3 separate regions of the Homo sapiens genome follow, and all the other regions are linked to region 2. Evidence: promoter capture Hi-C in 16 types of primary human blood cells and fetal thymus (Javierre and others, 2016). All regions are on one chromosome and are shown on one strand. Each heading gives the region's core, a stretch centred on a gene start or on the middle of the fragment in contact. The rest is flanking DNA. Distances are from core to core; before and after follow the strand shown.

The links. The method cuts DNA at HindIII sites, captures the fragments that hold promoters and counts their contacts. A CHiCAGO score of 5 or more calls a contact.
Region 1: the fragment with the promoter of NOD2 here is called in contact with the fragment with the promoter of NKD1 in region 2 in 6 of 17 cell types (non-activated CD4 T cells, monocytes, naive CD8 T cells and 3 more); the score reaches 6.4 in non-activated CD4 T cells.
Region 3: a fragment that was not itself captured here is called in contact with the fragment with the promoter of NKD1 in region 2 in 4 of 17 cell types (non-activated CD4 T cells, total CD4 T cells, naive CD4 T cells and 1 more); the score reaches 7.7 in non-activated CD4 T cells.

Annotation. Positions count from the first base shown.
Region 1 is chr16:50,692,301-50,696,461 of GRCh38, forward strand. NOD2 (nucleotide binding oligomerization domain containing 2) reads left to right here and starts at 1,306. Exons shown (of 12, transcript NM_001370466.1): 1 at 1,306-1,362. RefSeq lists a silencer at 1,026-1,535 and enhancers at 1,906-1,955, 2,196-2,275. The HindIII fragment of the contact is 14,983 bases long and covers 1-4,161 here.
Region 2 is chr16:50,546,356-50,550,509 of GRCh38, forward strand. It overlaps NKD1 (NKD inhibitor of Wnt signaling pathway 1), which reads left to right and starts at 2,041. Exons shown (of 10, transcript NM_033119.5): 1 at 2,041-2,223; 2 at 2,362-2,394; 3 at 3,067-3,200. The coding sequence starts at 2,199. RefSeq lists silencers at 1,684-2,133, 2,174-2,363. The HindIII fragment of the contact is 5,196 bases long and covers 1,634-4,154 here.
Region 3 is chr16:50,416,043-50,420,051 of GRCh38, forward strand. No RefSeq gene overlaps it. Among named protein-coding and RNA genes, the nearest start is that of LINC02178, 23 kb to the left of the region's middle. The HindIII fragment of the contact is 7,581 bases long and covers 1-4,009 here.

The sequences.
Region 1 (4,161 bases), core at 56-2,555, 150 kb after region 2:
GGAAACAAAAACAATGCTATTAAAGCTAATTAGATAGTTTCAGAGCCAAGTAATCTAGGCAGTGCTAGAAAGGTACTCAAACCCTATTAGTACTAAACTGAGAAATAAACTCCATTCAACATAAACGGAAAAACTGAAAGGAAAATGAAAAAAAAGAACCTTAAATGACCAGTCCACTCTTACCTAACATGTAACCTGTCACACTCTGGAAAAGTTTTCCTAGTTTTGGCTGTGTGTGCGTGTGTGTGTGTGTGTGTGTTGGGAAGTGAGGCGTGTGTTGGGAAGCGATGTGTGTGTTGGGAAGCGATGTGTGTGTGTTGGGAAGTGGGGTGTGTGTATATTGGGAAGCATGTTTGTGTGTGTTGGGAAGCGGTGTGTGTGTTGGGAAGTGGTGTGTGTGGGGTGTGGTGTGTGTGTGTTGGGAAGTGGTGTGTGTGTGGGGTGTGTGTATGTGCACGTGTGTGTTGGGAAGCAGTGTGTGTGGGGTGTGTGTGTGTTGGGAAAGCAGGGAGTGTAGTGTGTGTTTGTGTTGGAAAGTGGTGTGTGTGTGGGGTGTGTGTGTGTGTGCACGTGTGTGTTGGGAAGCGGTGTGTGTGGGGTGTATGTGTTGGGAAAGCAGGGTGTGTGTGTGTTGGGAAGTGGTGTGTGTGTGAGTGTTGGGAAGCAGGGTGTGTGTGTTGGAAGTAGGGGGTGTATGTGTATCGGGAAGCATGTTTGTGGTGGGGGGAAGCAGGGCGTGTGTGTGTGTGTATGTGAGTGTTGGGAAGCAAGGTATGTGTGTTGGGGGAAGCGAGGGCTGTGTGTGTATTGGGAAGCATGTTTGTGTGTGGGGGGAAGCGAGGGCTGTGTGTGTGTATTGGGAAACATGTTTGCGTGTGGGGGGGAAGCAGGGCGTGTGTGTGTGTTGCGAAGCGGTGTGTGTGTGGTGTGTGTGTGTGCGCGTGTGTGCTGGGAAGCGGTGTGTGTGGTGTGTGGTGTGTGTGTGTGTGTATGTGTATGTGTTGGGAAGCGGGTTGTTCCGAGGACTCCCCGATTCCCTCCTGGTTGAAACGTGGCCCAGAAAGAGAGGCACACTGGCTAGGGCACACAGCCAGGGCCGTCCAGCCCCGCAGGAAGCCCCGGTCCTGCCCTGTCCCAGGTAAGCCTGGCCAGCCCTGGAGCCGGCGCTGCGGGGCTGCGGGGCTGCGGGGCTGCGGGGCCACGGGACAGGAGCGGGTGCTGCGGTCCCGGCAGAGCAGGGGCGGGGTCCGGGCGGGGGCGGAGCCGAGCGCCCGCGCACCCGGAGCCGCAGCCCGAGCCGGAGCCGGAGCCGGGAGTCGTGGCCCGGAGTGGGCCTTGGAGTCGGCGCGCAGGCGGCTCGCGGTGAGTGCTGTGCCCAGCGCCTGGGGGTGGGCTGGGGGGAGACTGTGGGCGCCGAGGGTCCCACCCCCGGGACTTGAACACTTGGCTTCTGAGCCGTCCTGGCCGCAGGGCTTGGGCAAGGGTTGCCTCGGTTTCTCCTGGGGGAGTCCCAGAATGTAGATGGGAAGTGAGACGGAAAGGGGGCATCTCGAGGTTGGGGAGGCCCCTGGGCCACTCTTTTGATTTCCTTCCTCTCTGTGGGACTCAGTTTCCCCAGCTTCACCATGCCAGTGAGTGGGTGGGTATAAGTGAGAGAGTCTGCCTGGAGGATCCTGCTGCTGCTCTCTGTACCTCTTATGGGAATCTCCTGCCTCCTCCTTCTCCCTTGTTGGGTGTGAGATCTAAGTTCAAATCCATCCCTTCCCAGACAGCCCACACCAGGACCTGCGAGGCCACATCCCCCAGCTGTTTGCTCTCCTATGCTTCTCAGGTTGATGGAGCAGCCATCTGGTCCTGCTTTCATTCCAACAAACTGAAAAGCCCTCCACCCCAATCCCCCTGGGGAGGACCTCCTGAAGCTGCATGAGGGCTGGGGGCTGGACCCCTGCTTCTGAGTTTGCTCTTTCTGAGCCTCTCCTGCCATGGCCTTGGTTTCCCCATGGGCTGTGACCTAGCCTCCTCCAGGGTCCTTGTTCTACAGAGGGGAAACACCTGCCCTGTCACCCTCCCCTGACCCCTTAGTGAAAAAGACCAGAGTGACATCCCCACCACCTGTACTTGCCTGTCCCGATCACTCAGCCATGGGGCTGCTGGGGCCCCTGAGTTTGTTGGCTGCTCAAGGCCCCTTTGCCTCGCTGCACCCTGGGATCTGAGGCTGGAAGCATCCTCATCCAGCCCACCTCCCTCCTACCCAGTGCAGAGCCCCTCTGTGACACATGCCCAGTGGTGGGGAGCTTATTACTGATGAGGTGGCTTTTTAGTGCCTTGCAGCTCTTGTTTCCTTTAGCTAAAATCTGTGGCTTACAGATTCTACACCTTGGTTCCATGTCTGTCTCCCGGAGCCATGCAGAGCAAGTCAGTTCTTTCATTCTTTCCAGCAGTCATCATTCATGCACTGGATGAGACACGAGACAGAGCAGTAGGAAAATCAGACAAAACCCCCTGCCCTCATGGAGTGCACACTCTAGAAAGGAATGGACAGCAATGAAATAAGTAAATACATGGCGTAGCAGGTGGCGGGAAGTACTACGAGTAAAACAAAGCTGGGAAGCAGGATGGGGTGCTGGGGCTGGGTATTGCATTGTATATAGCACAACCAGGGAAGGCTTCCCCAAGACCACGATAGCTGGGCAAAGTCATAAGGAATTGAGGGGTGAGCCACATGAGTATCTGGGGGGCTGGGAGGCTTTGGTTTTCACTCTGAGCATGATGGGAGCACGGGTTTGGAACAGAGGAGTCACCTGCTTTGACTTGGGGTCTGGCAGGCCCATCTAGCTGTGGGGTGGAGAATGGATCATGGGGGGGGTGGGGTAAGGGCAGAAGGAGAGCCCGTTGAGCGGATCATTGCTGTCATTCTCGGGAGAGACCATGGTGTCTTGCCCATGGCCCAGAGGTGGTTAAAAAAAAGAAAACCAGACATTCAGATTTGGGATATATTTCAAAGGCCGTGTCGATAGGGTTTGGGGTGCAAGAGAAAGGTAGAGTCAAAGATGATTCTGAGTGTTTGGCTCGAGCTTCTGGAGGTTTGAAGCTGCCATGAACTGAAATGGGAGTTGCTTAGCGGAGAGATCAAGAGTTTGGTTTTGTGCTTGTGGAGTTTGAGCTGCCCATTAGGCATCAATGATGAGTAAGCAGTTGGGAAAAGTTAAGGGCGGAGGTTGGAGTTGAAAATAAAACTTTGGGCATCATCACCATATAACTGGTATTTAAAGCCACAAGAGCAGGTGGGCTCATCTAGGGATGGAGTGATATGGAGAAGAGAAGGGGTCTAACCATTGAGTGCTGGGGCCCCCAGTGTTAGGAACCAGCCAAGAAGACAGAAAGAGTGAAAATCAGAGAGTTGGGGTGTCCTGGAGGAAATGAAGAAAATGCCCCAAAGAGGAAGGAGGGAACAAATATGACCAATGCCCCTGGCAGAGCAAGCAGGCTGAGGGCTGAGGATTGAGCAATGGGAGGTCACTGGTGACAGTTTCACTGGAGCTGGATGGGGAACTAGAGGGAATGGGAGGGGATGGGAGGACTTGGGGACAGCAGTACAGGCAACAGACAAGGGGGCCTGCTGTAAAGGGAGCAGATAAATGGGATTGGAGCCAAATGAAGAAGGGGAGTGTCAAGAGAGTGCTTTACTTTTACAATGGAGAATTAGAGTGCATTGTGCACTGGTGGGGGGATTTGATCTCTTAGGGAGAGAACAGTGTTAGGGAGGGAGAATGCAGGATAGCTGGGGGAGGGTGGGGGGCTTGGCCCCAGCAGAGACTCAGGACACTTGGGAAGTTGAGCTTCCCTGGGCTTCCCCTCCTCTCCTGTCTGCAAGGGGTCAGTGGGCTGAGATTTCAGCACTTAAGCAAAGCATTTGCTCTTGGCCCCAGAGAAACCGGGCTGGCTGTGGTCTCAGGAAGGAAGGAGGTGTCCAGGCTCAGGCCTGGGCCTGGGTTTCAGGGAGGGCCCACGTGGGTCGCCCCTTGACCCTCTCTTTCAGCAAGGAAGTGATCCTTTCTCTACATGGGCCTCACCTTGGGGAGGACAATGGTGTCTTTGAAGTTGTAGTAACTGAAGTAGAGATCAAAAGGCAATGCAGATAGACTGACAGATTTCGCCTGA
Region 2 (4,154 bases), core at 791-3,290:
ACCTCTCTGAGTTGAATAGGTTCCCTCCTTTCTAGAACAAGTATGAGTCTGCATCAGAGAGTGGTTGCGAGGGCTACACATGATGGAGGATGAGGACTGGCACATCAGAAGTACTGAATGAAGAATTGTAACATAAAAATGACAACAGTAATATATTTTTGTGGTTTCAGCACTCTTCAAATGAAACCACCTGGCCAACAGGATTTTAGTGTACCTGCTTATAACATTAGCCTTCGTTTCCACCAAAAAGGGTGTTAAAAAAGGAAGCTTGGAACATGAAAGTAAGACACTTGGATGAAGAGATTTATGACTCTGGGGGGCTGTGAATTCCTAATGTCCTTTTGAGACATGTAGATCTTCCAGAGCGATGCTGCCCAATGCAGTAGCCACTAGCCAAGTGCAAATGGTCACTTGCAATATGGCTAGTCTTTGAGATGTGTTTTAAGTGTAAAATACACACTGAATTTTAAAGACTTAGCGCAATACAAAGAATGTAAAATATCTCATTATATCTTGAAATTATACTATTTTGGATATATGGTGTTCCCTTGGTGTCTTTGGGGACTGGTTCCAGGATCCTAGAGGATACCCAAATCCCCAGATGTCAAGTCCGCTATATAAAATGTCCTGTAGTATTTGCATATAACCTACACACATCCTTCTGAATACTTTAAATCATCTCTAGATTCCTTGTAATTCCTAATACAATGTAAATGTTATGTAAATAGTTGTTATACTATATTAAAAAGTTTTTTATTCTTTATTTTTGCTGTATTATTCTTTTTGCATATTTTCAGTCCACAGATGGTTGATGCCACAGATGTGGAACCTGTGAATAAGGAGGGCTGACTGTATTGAGTTAAGCGAAATATATTATTAATATTTCATCTATTTCTTTTTACTTCTAAAAGATGTGGCGACAAGAAAATTTAAAATTACAAATGTGGCCCACATTATATTTCTATTGGGCAGTGCTGCTCTAGAGAGTCGGCAAAAAGGGCAGAATGGAGCCTCCATTATACAGATCACAAAACTGAGCACAGGTAATTCACTCCAAAGGTCGGGGCTGGTCTCACTCTGAGCTGCGGGTTTTCTTTTCCCACGCCAGAGCTGCCTGGTGCCAGGACGAGCGTAACACGGACCCACAGTGTCCCCAGAAGGGGGCAGGCGTTCTGAGAGCCACAAAGGTGGGGTGGAATCCCTTGATGTCGACCGCCACCATCCCCCTCCCCCCGCGCGACCTCCCCGCAGAGACCTCCCCAGACAAAACAAACAAACCCTTGGGTCTGGCGAACTGCAGCGGGGAGCGGAAACCAAGGAAGATCAAAGACTCAGCGGTTACCCCCTTCCGGGCCGCGCAGTTTGGCAGCGCGCCCCGACCCGGGCGGGCACCCACGGGCCCCCGGACGAGGAGATCCCAGAGACTGGCTGATAACGGGGCGCTTTGGACATTTGTCGCTGCCTGGAGAGGGCTGGGCTCACACTGGCCCGGGGTGCGCTGGGGGCTCCTCCTGGACTCCCCAAATAAGAAACTAGAGGAGTGCGGTGGTGGGGGGCGGGTCACGGGGCGGGTAATGAACACTTTCTGCAGAAGGTAGGTCGTGGGAAGACTGGGAAAAGGCAGCGCTGCCGAAGCTTGCACCTGAGCAGCTAAGGTCTCCGCTCCCGACCTCAGTTTCCCCACCTGTAAATTGGAGCCGCCGAGTCCCGCCCTGCCCGTTTAGAGAGAACGTGGAGCGGAGGGAAGTGACAGTACAGTTAGCGATGGCCGGGCTGTTCTGTCCCAATACGCCTCCTGGACAAGCCGCCCCGCCGGGTCGCCAGCCCTGGAGCTCGGCCCCCGGCCCCAGACCGCGGCAGGGAGCGCGGACTGTGTCCCGCCCCTCCCGTCAGCGCCCCGCCCTCGTCCCCGCCCTGCCCCGCCTCCGGCCCCGCCCCCGCCGCAACCAGCCTTGCCTTTGATGCGCCGCACCGGCCAATGGGCGCGCGGGGAGGCGCGGGCCGCGGCGGCGGGCTGGGGGCTCGGCGCTCCCGGGCGTCAGTCGGGCCGCGGCGACGGCGGCAGGAGCGCGTCCCGGCGCCGCCTCGGGCTCCGCTCGGCTCGGGGGCTGCTTCGGGAGGAGGAGAGCCAAGGGAGGCGCCAGGCCCGCGGGCCGGGCGCATGGCTTAGGGACGCTCCCGGCCGCCGCAGCCCCAGCATGGGGAAACTTCACTCCAAGCCGGGTCAGTGCCCCCGCCCGCGCGCTCGCCCCGGGCCCCGCCGCCGTCGCCGCCGCGGTCGCTAACTCTCTCCCTTCCTTTCTTTCCTTCTCCCGCCGCCGCGGCTGCCGCCGCCGCCGCCGCCTCGCGATGTGCCTGCAGCCGCCGTGTGCAAGCGCAGGGAGAGCCCGGAAGGTAGGGGCGCGCGGGGCGCAGACCTCGGGGATGGACGCGGGGGACACCGCGGCCGCGGCAGAACGGCCCAGCCCGCCAGGTCTTATGACCAGGGCCACCCCGAAGCCCCAGTTCCGGCCACCGGCCCCCCAAGCCCGCTCCCTGAGCAGCCTTCGCGCCCCCTCCTCTGTCCCTCCTACCCGCTCCCCGCGGTCCTGCGCTCCCACCGCTGACCCTCAACCCCTCCCCCTCCCGCGTCCCTGCCCTCGGCTCTCACGGCACCCTCTCTTCAGACCCCCAAGCGCCTCCCCGCAAGACCCTGCCCCCTCTTCCTGCCCCCCGGCCCTTCTTCCGATATCCTGGCTCCTGCACCTACTGCGGCCCCTCTCCTGACCCCCAGCCCTCTCCTCCGCAGTCCTGGCTGCCAGTGCTCCCTGGTCTGATCCTAAACCCGTCCTCCTGGGGTACTGCTCACCCCTCTTGCCCCCTTCTGGCTCCTCGCTCCTAGGGCTTCGCTGAACCCCCCTTTACTTACCCGCGTCCCTCTCTTGGCTCCTGCCCCAGCCCGCGAACCCCCTCCTGGCCCCCGTGCCGTGGTCCTTCGCCTCCCACCGCGCCTCCTTCTTCCCTCCGCGGGGGTAACTTTTGGCACCTGGAGCCAGACTCAGGGGCTTCATGTCGTCCCCGTCCCAGGTGACAGCTTCGCCGTGAGCGCTGCCTGGGCTCGGAAGGGCATCGAGGAGTGGATCGGGAGACAGCGCTGCCCGGGCGGTGTCTCGGGACCCCGACAGCTGCGGTTGGCGGGCACCATAGGCCGAAGCACCCGGGTATGATTCCCCACCCCTGCCCCACCTCCTGGCCTCCTTTCAGCCTCAGAGATGGGTCCCCAAACCCATGCACCCCAACTTTGAGCACTTTCCTGCACAGCTTCTGGGTCTGAAAATCTCTTCTCAGCTGCCCCCTGCCCCACCAACGCGACCCTCTGCCCGCATGCCTTGGAGAACCTCGAAGTGCCCAGCTGGAGGCAGAGGGCTGCCTGGGGGAAAGGTCCTAGGTGGGGAGGTGGTGAAGGTCCAGTTGATGGGGAATCGTGTCTGTACCGGCGGGATTTGGGGGCCTGCTCTGACTTCTACCTTGTTTCTGCCACCAGCATTCAAAGGTGGAGGTGGAGTAGGGGCTAGAGAGAAGGGGGTATTAGGGGTGTCTGGGTGGAAGGCAGAGCTGTGCTGGCCCCAGGATCTGAATATGTTCTGATTGTCTGTGGCATTCATCAGTACCACCTGTACAGGAACCCCAGTAGAGCAGGCGGCCCTCTGGGTAGCAGATCTAGGGGGACTGAGACCTGGAAGACCCCTTACTTGGCATATGAGATAGAGGGCCTCATTCCACTGTAGCCTGGGCAGAGCCCTGAGCCTTCACCCCGTGTGTCTCTGAGGCTGGAGTTCCTGGAGGAGCACTAAGTGTGATGGGAATGAGTGAGTCCAGCCCCAGCTCCTGGCCTGGGACTTGGCGTTCACAGATGTCCTGTGAGCTCCGGAACTCTGCACGGGGCTTTCAGGCAGTCTGCGTGGAACTCGCGCAAGCCTAGGATCAAAGGATGAATCAACTTTTTGATGTGACATTTAATTTTTTTTTTTTTTTTTAACTTAGAGGGGGAATAGACTGAGTCTCAGGTCTGGTTAGTTCTTTGGTCTTATCCATGGGCTGGGGAGAGGCCAGTGGAGACTTCAGATGTGTTTGTATTTGGGTGGTGGGACCTGGCAGCTCGCTTGCAGTGCTGG
Region 3 (4,009 bases), core at 428-2,927, 130 kb before region 2:
CTGATTTTTGTGTCTTGATTTTATATCCTACAAGTTTACTGAATTTTTTTATTAGCTTAACTGTGTGTGTGCGTATGTGTGTGTGTGTGTTCTTCTTTAGGGTTTTCTACATAAAAGAGCATATCATCTGTGAATAAACGAATTTTATTTCTTCCTTTCCAATATGGATGCTTTTTAATTCTATTTCTTGTCTAAATGCTCTGGATAGAACTTCTATTACTATGTTGCACAGAAATGATAAAAGCAGGCATTCTTGTTTTTTTCTGTTCTAAGGGGAAAAGATTTCAGTCTTTCATCATTGAATATGATATCAGCTGTAGATTTTTCAAATATAGCCTCTATCATGTTGAGGAAGTTCTACTCTATTCTTAGCTTATTTAGTTGTTGATTAGCTTATTTATTATGAAAGGATATTGGATTCTGCAAACATTTTTCCTGCATCAATTGAGACGATGATAATTTTTCCTTCATTCTATTAATGTTATGTATTACATTGATAGATTTTCTTATGTTGAACCATCCTTGCATTCCAGAGATAAATCCCACTTAATTGTGACGTATAATCCTTTTACTATGTTGCTGAATTCGGTTTCCTAGTATTTTGTTGAGAATTTTAGCACCTGTATTCATAAGAGATATTGGTCTGTAGTTTTCCTTTCTTATACCCTTTTTGCCCAATTTTGGTATCAGAGTTAATACTGGCCTTATAAGTTATAAGATGTTCCCTCCTCTTCAGTATATTGGAAGAATCTGAGACAGATTGATATTAATTCTTCTTTAAATATTTGGTAGAATTCACTAGTAAAGCCATCTGGTCCTGAGCTTTTCTTTGTTGGGAGGTTTTGATTGCTAGTTCAATCTCCTTACTTGTTATAGGTCTATCCAGATTTTCTATTTTTCCTTGTGTCAGTTTTGGTAGTTTATGTGTTTCTAGGATTTGTCTATTTCATCTAGAGTATCCAATTTGCTGGCATACAGTTGTTGATAGTATTTTCTTAGAATCCCTTTTATTTCCATAAAATTGGTAGTAATGTCCTCATTTTCATTTTTAATTTTAGTTATTTGTGTCTTTCCTCTTTTTTTTGTTAGTCAGTATAGGTAAAGGTTTATCCATTTTGTTGATCTTTCAAAGAACCATCATTGAATAGTGTTAAGAGTGAAAGAAAAGAAAAAAAACCCAGAACTAAAGAACTAATGTTTTGTTTAGTTGATATTTCTCTATAGCTTTTCTATTCTTTCCGTAGTGTGTGTGTGTGTGTGTGTGCATGCATGTGTGTGTGTGTGTGTGTGTGTCTGTGTGTTCTGTCTTCAGTCTAATCTTTATTATTTCCTTCCTTCTGTTAGCTTAGGTCTAGTTTTTTCTTCTCATTCTAGTTTTTTAAGGTATACAATTGGGTTATTGATTTGAGATCTTTCTTTTTAAAAAATGTATGCATTTACAGCTATAGGTTTCCCTCATAGCACTGCTTTCACTATATTCCATACATTTGGTTGGCTGTGTTATCATTTTCATTTTTGAAAAAATATTTTCTAATTTTCTTTGTGGTTTATTCTTTGCTCCATTGCTTATTTAAGATTTGTTGTTTAATTTTCACATATTTGTGAATTTTCCTGTTTTCCTTTTACTATTAATTTCTAGTTTTATTCCATTGTAGTTGCAAAATATACTTTGTATAATTTCAACTAAAAATTTTTCATAAGACTGTTTTGTACCCTAACATATGGTCTATCATGGATAATGTTCCATGTGTACCTAGAAGAATGTGTATTTTGATGCTGTTGGGTAGAATGTTCTGTATATGTCTTTTAGGTCTAATTGGTTTATAGTGTTATTTATATCTTCTGCTTTCTTACTGATGTTCTATCTTATTGTTGTTTATTATTAAAAGTGAGGTATTGAAGGTTCCAATTATTGTAGTACTGTCTATTTCTCTGTTCAATTCTTTTTTTTTTTTTTAAATTTTTCTGCTTTCCCATGCTTCCTAGAGATATTTGTCTCTTCAGTTCTGTCAAGTTTTGCTTCATCTATCTTAGGTCTCTGTTGTTAGGTTTATATAGGTTTACAATTGTTATATATTCTTGCCCAATTAAACCTTTTATCAATATATACTCACCTTTTATGTCTTTTGTTGAGCTTTTTTCACTAAAAGGTTGTTTTGTCTGACAATAATATAGCCACCTGGCTATCTTTTGGTTACTATTTGCATAGAATACCTTTCTCTATCCTTCTAATTTCAATCTCTTTGTATTGTTATATCTAAAGTGAGTCTTATGTAAACAGCATTTAGATGGATCATGTTTCTCTTTTATTCAGTCTGCTAAGCTCTGCCTTTTAATAGGAGAGTAATTTACATTTAATGTGATTACTGATAAAGGGGGGTTTACTTCTACCATTTTGCTTTTTTTTTCTATATGTATTATATATTTTTTGTTCCTCTATTTCTCCCTTACTGCTTTTTTTGGTATTTAGTCGATTTTTTTTAGTGTACCATTTTGGTTCCTTTCTTTCCTTTTCTGTGAATTTTAATTTTATTTTCTTAATAGCTACTTTGGGAGATTACAGTTAACATCTTAAACTTATAACAACCTAGTTTGCAAAAGTACCAATGTAGTTTCAAAGGTGTATACATACTCTACTCCTATACATCTCTGTTCTTCTTTCTTTGTTTTGTAATTGTCACAAATCACATTTTTACACGTGTGTTCATTAACATAGACTTATAATTGTTTTATGCATTTGCCTTTTATATCACATAGAAAAAAAAGAGAAGTTACAAACCCAAAGAACAATAATACTGACTTTATATTTACCTATGTAGTTGCCTTTACCAGTGTTCTTTATTTCTTCTTATGGCTTTGAGTTAATAGCTAGTGTCCTTTTGTTTCAGACTGAAGGACTTATTTTGGTAATTCTTGTAGGGAAGATCCACTGGTAATGAACTTCCTCAGGTTTTGTTTATATGGAAATGTCTTAATTTTCCCTTCATTCATTCATTCTTCTTTTTTTTTTTTAGACAGAATCTCACTCTGTTGCCCAGGCTGGAGTGCAGTGGCATGATCTCATCTCACTGCAACCTTCACCTCCTGGGTTCAAGTGCTTCTTGTGCCTCAGCCTCCAGAGTGGCTGTGATTACAGGTGTGCACAACCACACCCAAGTAATTTTTGTATTTTTTAGTAGAGATGGGGTTTCACCATGTTGGCCAGGCTGAAAGATAGTTTTGCTGGATACAGAACTCTTGGTTGACAGTTTCTTTCAGCATGTTAAATATCATCCCACTGCCTTCTGGCCTCCATAATTTCTGATGAGAAATCAGCTATTAATCTTATTGAAGATCTCTTATATGTGACCCAAATAGCTTTTCCCTTGCTGTTTTCAAAGTTCTCTTTGCCTTTGTGTTTCAGTAGTTTGGTTGTAATGTGTCTTGATGTGGATATTTTGAGTTTAACCTACTTGGGGTTTATTGAGCTTGTTGGATATGTATATGGATGCATTTCATCACATTTGAGAAAAATTTGGCCACTCTTTCTTTGAATGTTTTTTTCTGCCACCTTTTCTCTCTATTCTCCTACCTGGATTACTGTGGTTTGTATGCTGGTATTGTTGATGGTGTTCCACAGCTCCCTCAGTTTCTGTTCATTTTTCTTTCTTTCTGTATTTTTCTTTCCACTCTTCAGAACGGGTATTAATTTTCTCAGGCTGCTATAACAGAATAGAATACCATAGTGTGGGTGAAACAATAGACATCTATTTCTCACAGCTCTCAAGACTGAGAAATCTAAGATCAAGGTGCCAGCAAAAATGAGTTTTATTCTGAGGCATCTTCTCTTGCCTTGTTGCCTTCTCATTGTATGCTGACATGACTTCTTTGTCTATGTGTGTGTGGGGGGAGAGACAGAGAGAGCGAGAGGGATCTTTCTCTTCTTAAAGGTCTTCAATTCTATCAGGTGAGGGTTCTGCCCCAATCTCACTTTACTTTAATTACCTCCTAAAGGCACTATGTCCAGTCA